3 separate regions of the Homo sapiens genome follow, and all the other regions are linked to region 2. The links are contacts of gene promoters, found by promoter capture Hi-C in blood cells and fetal thymus (Javierre and others, 2016). All regions are on one chromosome and are shown on one strand. The core of a region is centred on a gene start or on the middle of the fragment in contact, and the rest is flanking DNA. Distances in the headings are between cores, read along the strand shown.

Region 1 (2,700 bases), core at 197-2,696, 320 kb after region 2:
AAACGTGGAGCACTGTCTCCCAGCCTTGGAGCTCAGGGGCAGCAGATAATCTGAGCCAGCTGGAGCAGGTGGGGTCGCTCTTGGCTGGAACGGCCATGGAAAACCCCAACCAAAGACAGCACTTGGGAGAACATCTATGAAAATGTGAAAGTCCATACCCTTGACCCAGCTGTTCTACAGATATGATTTGTGTAAAATAACGTAAGTGAGAATATTTGCTATAGCAGTTTGTAATGGCCAAACATAGCAAAAAACCCTAACTATCCAGCAATGGTGACTAGATAAATTGTGATCCTTCCACACAAGGAATGCCATGTAGCTATTAAAAAGAATGAGGCAGCTCTACATGTGCTGATGTAGGATGAGTTACAAGATACATATAGTTAACACAAAAGAAGAGCTCAGAACAGTGTATATGATAGCGTTTGTATTAAATATAACAAATATACTTGTCTATTTGCACGTACGGCTGAATCTGGAAGGATATACAAGAGACTGCCACTGCCTTGAGACTGGGAGGCCTAGGGGACAGGAACGGGAGGGAGACCTTTTATTGTGCATCTGTTTGAATCTTTTGAATTTTGCACTATGTGTATACTTTACAATTCAATAAATACTCATGTTTTCAAAAGAAAACAAAAAAGCATTTAGAAACAAACAGGCCAGACGTGGTGGCTCACCTTTGGGAGGCTGAGGAGGGAGGATTGATATAGCTGGGGATGTCAAGGCTGCAGTGAGCCATGATCCTGCCACTGCACTCCAGCCTGGGTGACAGAGTGAGATTCTGTCTCAAAAAAAAGAAACTGGGATGACACAGCAGTGTCTTCACTTATATCCTACGCCTCCACTGCTAGCTATGCGACCCTGGACAAGTTAATTTACCTCTATGTCCCAGTTTCTGTAAAACAGTGGTAACTTTTTGGAAAGGTTATTTTGAAGAGTAAGTTAATTAATATGTAAAGAGCTGGAAGAGCGCCTGGCACTGAATCAGCATTATGAAGTGTTAGATATTGCTATTTTGCTGCCCCAGACCAACTCCAAAGCAACGCCACTTGAGCCATGCCGGCTCTCCCTGCTGCTGCTTCTACCTAAATACTTCATTCATTTAACAAATAATTTTATTTTCTTTCTTTTTTTTTTTTTTGAGATGGGGTTTCGCTCTTGTTCCTCAGGCTGGAGTTCAATGACGCGATCTCGGCTCACTGCAACCTCCGCCTCCTGGGCTCAAGCGATCCTCTCACCTCAGCCTCCCGAGTAGCTGGGACTCCAGGCGAGCGCCACCATGCCCGCTAATTATTTTTTGTGTGGAGACAGGGTCGCATTATATTACCCAGGCCGGTCTCAAGTTCCTGGACTCAAGCGATCCTCCTGCATCAGCCTCCCAAAGTACTGGGATTACAGGCATGAGCCATCGCACCCGGCCTTAACAAATGCTTTTCTTTCTGAGACGGAGTCTCGCTCTGTCGCCCAGGCTGGAGTGCAGTGGGCGATCTCGGCTCACTGCAACCTCCGCCTCCCCGGTTCATGCGCCTCGGCCTCCCAAAATGCTGGGATTGCGGATCTGAGCCACCGCGCCCGGCCTGAGGTGATTTTTAACAAGTACAGCCGTAGCTGCAGATATCCTGGTTCTGTAGGAACAATGAGGTATGGATGGATCCATAGCTGGACCTATGGATGGGATGGATCCCCGGCAGGCCCTGGACGGAGGGAAATGCTCTGGTTTGCTAAGCCCGGCATCGAGTGAGACCCACCCACAAAGCTAACCGTGGAAGTCACTGGCGGCCTCCTTCGCCCTGCCGCCGGGGAACCCTGCCGGTGGCTCTCGACCTGCTCCCGGGCCATCTGGTGACACTGACTTCGCAGCCACCACCTTAATTGGCGCATTCGACCCAAATAATAACCAGGGAACCTGTGGGCGGTCAAAGGCCCGGCTCTGCGGTCGGCCCTCCCAGGCCCCTCTCCCTGCCCTGTGAGGCCAGAAAGTTACTTCTCCGAGGCCGTTCCCCATGTCGAGAAATATCTCCCGCTTGAGGTTCTGTGGGGTAGGGGAGGTTCGTGCATTTCTCACAGAAAACCTCGCACAGACCCGCGACTGCCTTTATTAACAGCTCTCAGGAGACTGCCTGCAGCCGGGGGGTGCCTCCGGCCCCATGCTCGCGGGCAAGCAGGGATAAGCTGTGCCTCCAAAAGGGCCAACGGGAACTCCGCGGTCCCTGAACTTCCGGTGCTGGCGGACTCCTCGCTCCAGGGCCACCAGGAGCCGCGGCGTGAGTGCGTGCCGGGACCGAGCGCGGGGTCTCTGAGGAACTCCAAGGCTGCCCAAGCCTACGGACCCAGCCACATTGGCGAACCGGAGACCGCCCGATTCCACCACCCCCGCGCTCCCCTCACAGCCGGCGCCAAAAACGCCAGTCCCACGACGCAGGCCGGGACCCGCGCGCCCACGGCCCAATCAGCGCGGACCTTGCACAAAGCGAGCCCCGCCCCCACGGCGCCGTTGCCAGCCCCTCCCCCTCCCGTGGCCGCCTCGGCCCGCCTACTCCCCGCCCCGCGCCGTTCACGGTTAGAGGCTCGCGATTGGCTCATGGGGACGGCCGCGAGCTTTGGTTGGTCGGCGCGGAGTCACGAGGGCGCCGTCGTCGCCTTTCCACAGGCGATTACTGGGCAGGCTCAGTCTTTCGCCTCAGTCTCGAGCTCTCG
Region 2 (2,714 bases), core at 97-2,596:
ACCATGTCCTTCACCTTTTACCCACTCAGTGCCTGACAAATAACAGGCTGAAAAGATATTTGTTGAATTACATGGAAGAAAAAATTGGGTGAGTTCCCAGATGGGTGAAAGTGGGGACAGGCAGAGGAAGGAAGGCCAAGAGAAGGACAGAGGAGGTTTCCAAGGAAACCGTGGCTCACACTGTAATTTTACCTACTTCCTGAAATCACATTAAATGTCACCTTGAGTGGCAAAAAACAAAACACCAAATCCTACCTAGGCTGAAAATAAATAAATATCACACTCCCTCACTCGCAAGAAATCCACCAAATAAATGCTACCTAATTCTGGGTGTTTCAACAGTGGATAGGAAAACCGTTCAAGGAGAATAATTCACATTGCCATGCTGCTAAAAATATCACCTCCTTAGTGTGGTGCAAAGAGTCCAGACTGCAAGTCAGCCGACTTAGGGCTGAATTCTAACTCTGCCCGAACTTGCTGTGATCTGTGGCCAATCCCTTCGCCTCTCTGGGCCTCAATTTCCTCATACGTAACAACAGGGGATAGATTAGCAAAGTCCCTTTATGTTTTGATATTCTGAGTATACAATCCATAGCTCTCCCGGTGCAAACCAGGAATACAGCAAAAAACCCTGAAATACATGTAAAAGGCGCCTCAGACCAACAAACAAGCACGATTTGAAGAAGTCATTTTGTTCTCTTTCACGGTTTAATCAGTGTTTTTGTTTGTTGTTTGCAGCCTTACCATGATTTGCAGATGTCTGAGTTCCATGTAAACAGAAGTTAACTCTCTGCGGGCTGTCATCTTCTTTTGAGGGTGAGAAGGGTCTTCCCGTTGGGTTTCAAGTCTCGGGATTCCGAAACGACCAACTCAGCGGGCGGGTTTGTGAATTTGCGCACACTGCGCGGCACACTGGAGTCTAAGTTACAGAGGAACCGAGTGCAGGGGATGCTGGGATTTGTAGTCCCCGGGCCTCTTTGTGGTGCGCTGGGATCTGTGGTCCCCCGAGTGCGCCGCTGGAATGCTGGGAAATGTAGTCTCTGTCGCGTCGCACAGTGCAACTCAGCTGCCGTCTCAGACGGCTAGTGTGCTCAGTGGCTGGAGCAGGTCCCTAAAGCCTCTGCAGATCCGAAGCCAACCCTCCGCTGGGACAAACTCTAGGCAACAACACCAGATGAATATTGTGTCCTATGGGACTTCCCGGGGAGGGCCCTTCCCATTGACGTTAACAGTCCCCCTGCGAAGCCGCTGCGCGCTCCTACTGGCTGGTTGAGATGCCAATCGCCAAGGCTGGCTTTCCATTGGTTCCAGGAGGGCACTGCGAGGCTAGGGGGAAGGAGAAGGGATCAGAAGCGGGAGCTGAGGGGAGAGAGAGGCCGGTCCTGGTCTGGCCGCTGCGGCTGCTAGCCCGAGGTCTCCAAGCCGGGCTGCGGCTCCATCCTCGGCTCCTGGGCACCGTCTGCGAGGCTCCGCCGACCAGAGTGAGAAAGCCGCGGGCGGCGACCGCCGCATCATGTCAGCCAAGGACGAGCGGGCCAGGGAGATCCTGAGGGGCTTCAAACTGTATCCGTCCGGGAGCGGGGCGGGGCCGGGAGGACTTGGGAGGCGGCCGCTCACTGAGGAGACTGGCCGGGGGCGGGGGCCGCGCCAGGTGGGCCCCACAGAAGAAGGGCCGCGGGAGGGGAGAGGAAAGGAACAGCGTGCCGAGCACCCGGCGGGACCCGGCGCGAGAGGCGCCCCAAGGGGCGTCCTGAGGGAGGAAGGGGACGTTGACGGGAGCGCCGGGGGGTGGCGGGTGGAGACGGGGGAGCCTGGGGGACGGGGCTGCGAGAGGTGCCGGGCGTCGGAAACGCTGTCGGAGAAGCCGGCTGGGTTCCGATCCCCGGCCGGGACCCAGAGGCCGGGATGGGGCTGCGGCCCGCGGAGAAGGGCTGAGGGGGCGCGGTGGGCTGATCTCGAAGCCTAGAAGCCTCTTTGGCTATAAGCCTACCCGGGGAGCGGGGAACAGTGACTTGGAGCGGGCGACCTTGTGTGGGACAAATACCAGTGCTTTTAAAACTCTCTCAGGTCCCCCACCGCACCGCACCGCACCCCACCCCCGTCTGGTTTCCACAACTTCTCTTCCAAACTTGTGGCTTCTTCCAGGACTGGAGTAGTTGGGGGAGGTGGGGAAAGAGAAGTCCAAGATCGACCTCGTCTTAACACTCTTGGCCTTCTCAGGCATTGGTCACTGCTTCCCCCTCAGCGCCTCAGTTTTCTTTCCAGCAAGATGAGGACCATAGGCTTAGGTGTGGGGTGCCTCGCGCTGGGACTCCTAGCCGAGGTGTCTTTGCTCGCTCCTGTCGGTGCGGTTATGCCTAGCTGTGGTGGAGCTGTCCAGCAATGGTGTGATGTCGCTGGGGCCACGGTAGGATAGAGTGGGGTAGAGAAATCATTGCCTCGGGCCTGTTGTGGTGCCCCTTTTGCATCCTCTCCGTAAGGAAGCTTTGTGTTTTCGTGGAGTGTGTTAGTCTGTCACCATATGATGCAGATGAAAAAATGCAAACTTGGATATTCAAATTTTCCATTCTCCTGCCAACTTTAATCTCTTCATGCATCCTATCTGTAATCTATAGTACGAACGTTCTTAAATTGCTCCCTCAGTGAAAAGGTAGTCACCACTTCAGGGCTCCTCCCTTGGAGGTTTAGTAAAGCACTGTTTTCTTGGTATTCTG
Region 3 (2,700 bases), core at 149-2,648, 270 kb after region 2:
TGAGCGTGCCACTGCACTGCAGCCTGGGAGACAGAGTCGGTCTCAAAGCAAAAAAACAAAAACAAAAACAAAAAACACAAACCTCAAAAGTGCTATTGCAAACACTTTTCAACTAGTATTACAAGTCCACACTAAACTGGATACCAAAACCTGACCAGGTCATTTTGAGAAATCACAGACCACTCTCTCTTTAATGAGCATAGATACAAAAATTCCAGAAATATTAGCAAATTGAATATCAATGTTATGCAAAGAGTAATACATCATAATGTATCGTGACCAAGTGTGGGTTATTTTGGGAATGCCAAGGTGTTCTTTGTTTGTAAAGTGATACTGGTTTTCTGGTAATACTGGTTTAAATCTCTTCATTCTTTAAATTGATTCATTAAAATCCATTCATTTATGGCCCAGGAGGGCGGTGCTTTCCCTCAGCCCTGCCTGGCTGTTTTAAATTAAAAAATAAAAAAGAAAAAAAAAGTCTATTACTTTGTGTACCTGCCAAACATGTTTTCATATTTCTTCTTTTGACATAGTCCTCACTATGTTCTTCTGAGAGTCTCTCCTTTGGAATTTGAAAATAGATAGGTTTAAGTTGAGTCCTGAAAGAATTAAGGTGGGTTAGTGGGTACACAGCTAATGAATATGGAATGTTTCACATGTGCAGCCATTGTACAAGGGCTTTATGCCAGGGGTCCCCAAGCCCTGGGCCACAGACTGGTCTATGGCCTGTTATGAACCAGGCCGCACAGCAGGAGGTGAGTGGTGGGCAAGTGAGGGAAGCTTCATCTGAATTTACAGCTGCCTCCCCATTGCTTGCATTACTGCCTGAGCTCCGCCTCCTGTCAGATCAGCTGCAGCAATAGCGTCTCATAGGAACACAGACCCTATTGTGAACTGCGCATGTGAGGAATCTAGGTTGTACGCTCCTTATGAGAATCTAATGCCTGATGATTTGTCACTGTCTCCCATCACCCCCAGATGGGACTGTCTAGTTGCAGGAAAACAAGCTCAGGGCACCCACTGATTCTACATTATGTTGAGTTGTATTTCATTATATATTACAATGTAATAACAGAAATAAAGTGCACAATCAATGTAATGTACTTGAATCATCCCTCTCCCCTCCCACCGGATGCATGAAAAATTGTCATCCACAAAACCGGTCCCTGGTGCCAAAAAGGTTTGGGACCACTGCTTTATACATTGGTTCATTTCATCCTCACTGTGACCGGGTTAGGTAGGCATCATATAGCTCCATTTTTTAGACAAGAAAGTGTGCTCGCTTCGGCAGCACATATACTAAAATTAGACAAGAAAGCAGATTTAGCCATTAACCAGCTTGCTCATGTTTCCAGAACTAGTAAGTGACAGCCAGGGTTATACATAGGTCTGCTGAATCCAAACCCCCTATACCTTCCCCATTCATTTCTCAGTCTTCTCCTAAGCAGCTTGTTCTGAGAGGCAGATAGCATTTATTTGTTGTCCATTTTGAGCAGCTGGTTGTGTGATAGAAACTTTCTTCAACCCTCTTCAGTCTAATTGTTTTAATTAATCAAATGTAAAAGTGGGTTTTGGGTGCCCTTGTCACACACACTTATTAGGGATGATGGACTTGTTAATTTACTTGACTGTAGTAACCATTTTGCCATAAGTATATTAAAACAGTTATACACTTTATACAATTTTTTAAAAAGTAAAAGTAGGGAAATCATGAAAATTATCCATCCATACCTTTTGATTTTAATTTAAGACATTATGTATTCTTTTGGCAATATTTTGATACAGGACCAAGGCCTTATCTTTGAGTCCACTGCTGGAGTAGCTTATCTTCCCTGCATAAAATACACACATAATGCATCTTCTGCAATTTAAAGTTTGTTTCTTTAAAGCAAAGGAAAACTCTAACATCCTAGTAAGTAAAGCAGTTTGAATACAGATTCCCACAGTTTTACAGCTTTTCCCATTCTTTTATGGTTGCTCATGCACCCTTAACTTGATTGCAGTTTTTTAAGCTTTATCAAGTACCTCCAAAGCACTGAAGTTTGTTTTCATAGACTCAATAACTTTTTGCACTTATTTTATTTTATTTTTTGAGATGGAGTCTCACTTTTGTTGCCCAGGCTTGAGTGCAATGGCTCAGTCTTGGCTCACTGCAACTTCCAGCTCCTGAGTTCAGGTAATTCTTTTGCCTCACCCTCCCAAGTAGCTGGGATTACAGGCATGTGCCACCACGCCCGGCTAATTTTTTATTTTTAGTAGAGATGGGGTTTCATCATGTTGGTCAATCTGGTCTCGAACTCCTCACCTCATGTGATCTGCCCGCCTCGGCCTCCCAAAGTGTTGGGATTATAGGTGTGAGCCACTGCACCCCACCCTTTTTGCGTTGATGGTATTGGTTTATGTGATGTTTAGTTAATTTTGCAGTTGAAACTGCAAATACAGGTTAGCAAACAACACAGCGGGTTTTTATTAAAGATACAGTTCAGCTCACAGGCATAGAGACATCACATTAGTAGGAGTACCACAGAGTGGCCCACTCATGCTTGGGATTTCATAAGCATCAAGTTATTATAGTAAGACCTGTTTGGAATTGAGACAGTCATTTAATCCAGCCAGTTGGTTACGTTGACATAGATAAGAGAGCATGTACTGTATCGGTTGAGTATCCCTTATTCGAAATGCTTGGGACTGGAAATGTTT

Evidence for each region. The method cuts DNA at HindIII sites, captures the fragments that hold promoters and counts their contacts. A CHiCAGO score of 5 or more calls a contact.
Region 1: a fragment that was not itself captured here is called in contact with the fragment with the promoter of PDE6D in region 2 in 1 of 17 cell types (non-activated CD4 T cells); the score reaches 5.1 in non-activated CD4 T cells.
Region 3: a contact is called between a fragment that was not itself captured here and the fragment with the promoter of PDE6D in region 2, in 1 of 17 cell types (neutrophils). The highest score is 5.4, in neutrophils.

What each region holds. Positions count from the first base shown.
Region 1 is chr2:231,464,470-231,467,169 of GRCh38, reverse strand. NCL (nucleolin) reads left to right here and starts at 2,686. Exons shown (of 14, transcript NM_005381.3): 1 at 2,686-2,700. RefSeq lists enhancers at 2,132-2,231, 2,277-2,700 and a silencer at 2,362-2,700. The HindIII fragment of the contact is 4,015 bases long and covers 1-2,700 here.
Region 2 is chr2:231,779,914-231,782,627 of GRCh38, reverse strand. It overlaps PDE6D (phosphodiesterase 6D), which reads left to right and starts at 1,346. Exons shown (of 5, transcript NM_002601.4): 1 at 1,346-1,563. The coding sequence starts at 1,514. It also overlaps a transcript of COPS7B not described here. RefSeq lists enhancers at 1,320-1,549, 2,100-2,179 and silencers at 1,760-1,809, 1,933-2,156. The HindIII fragment of the contact is 3,911 bases long and covers 1-2,486 here.
Region 3 is chr2:231,510,500-231,513,199 of GRCh38, reverse strand. The region is part of intron 2 of LINC00471 (long intergenic non-protein coding RNA 471); the gene reads left to right. Among named protein-coding and RNA genes, the nearest start is that of LINC00471, 2.5 kb to the left of the region's middle. The HindIII fragment of the contact is 1,232 bases long and covers 783-2,014 here.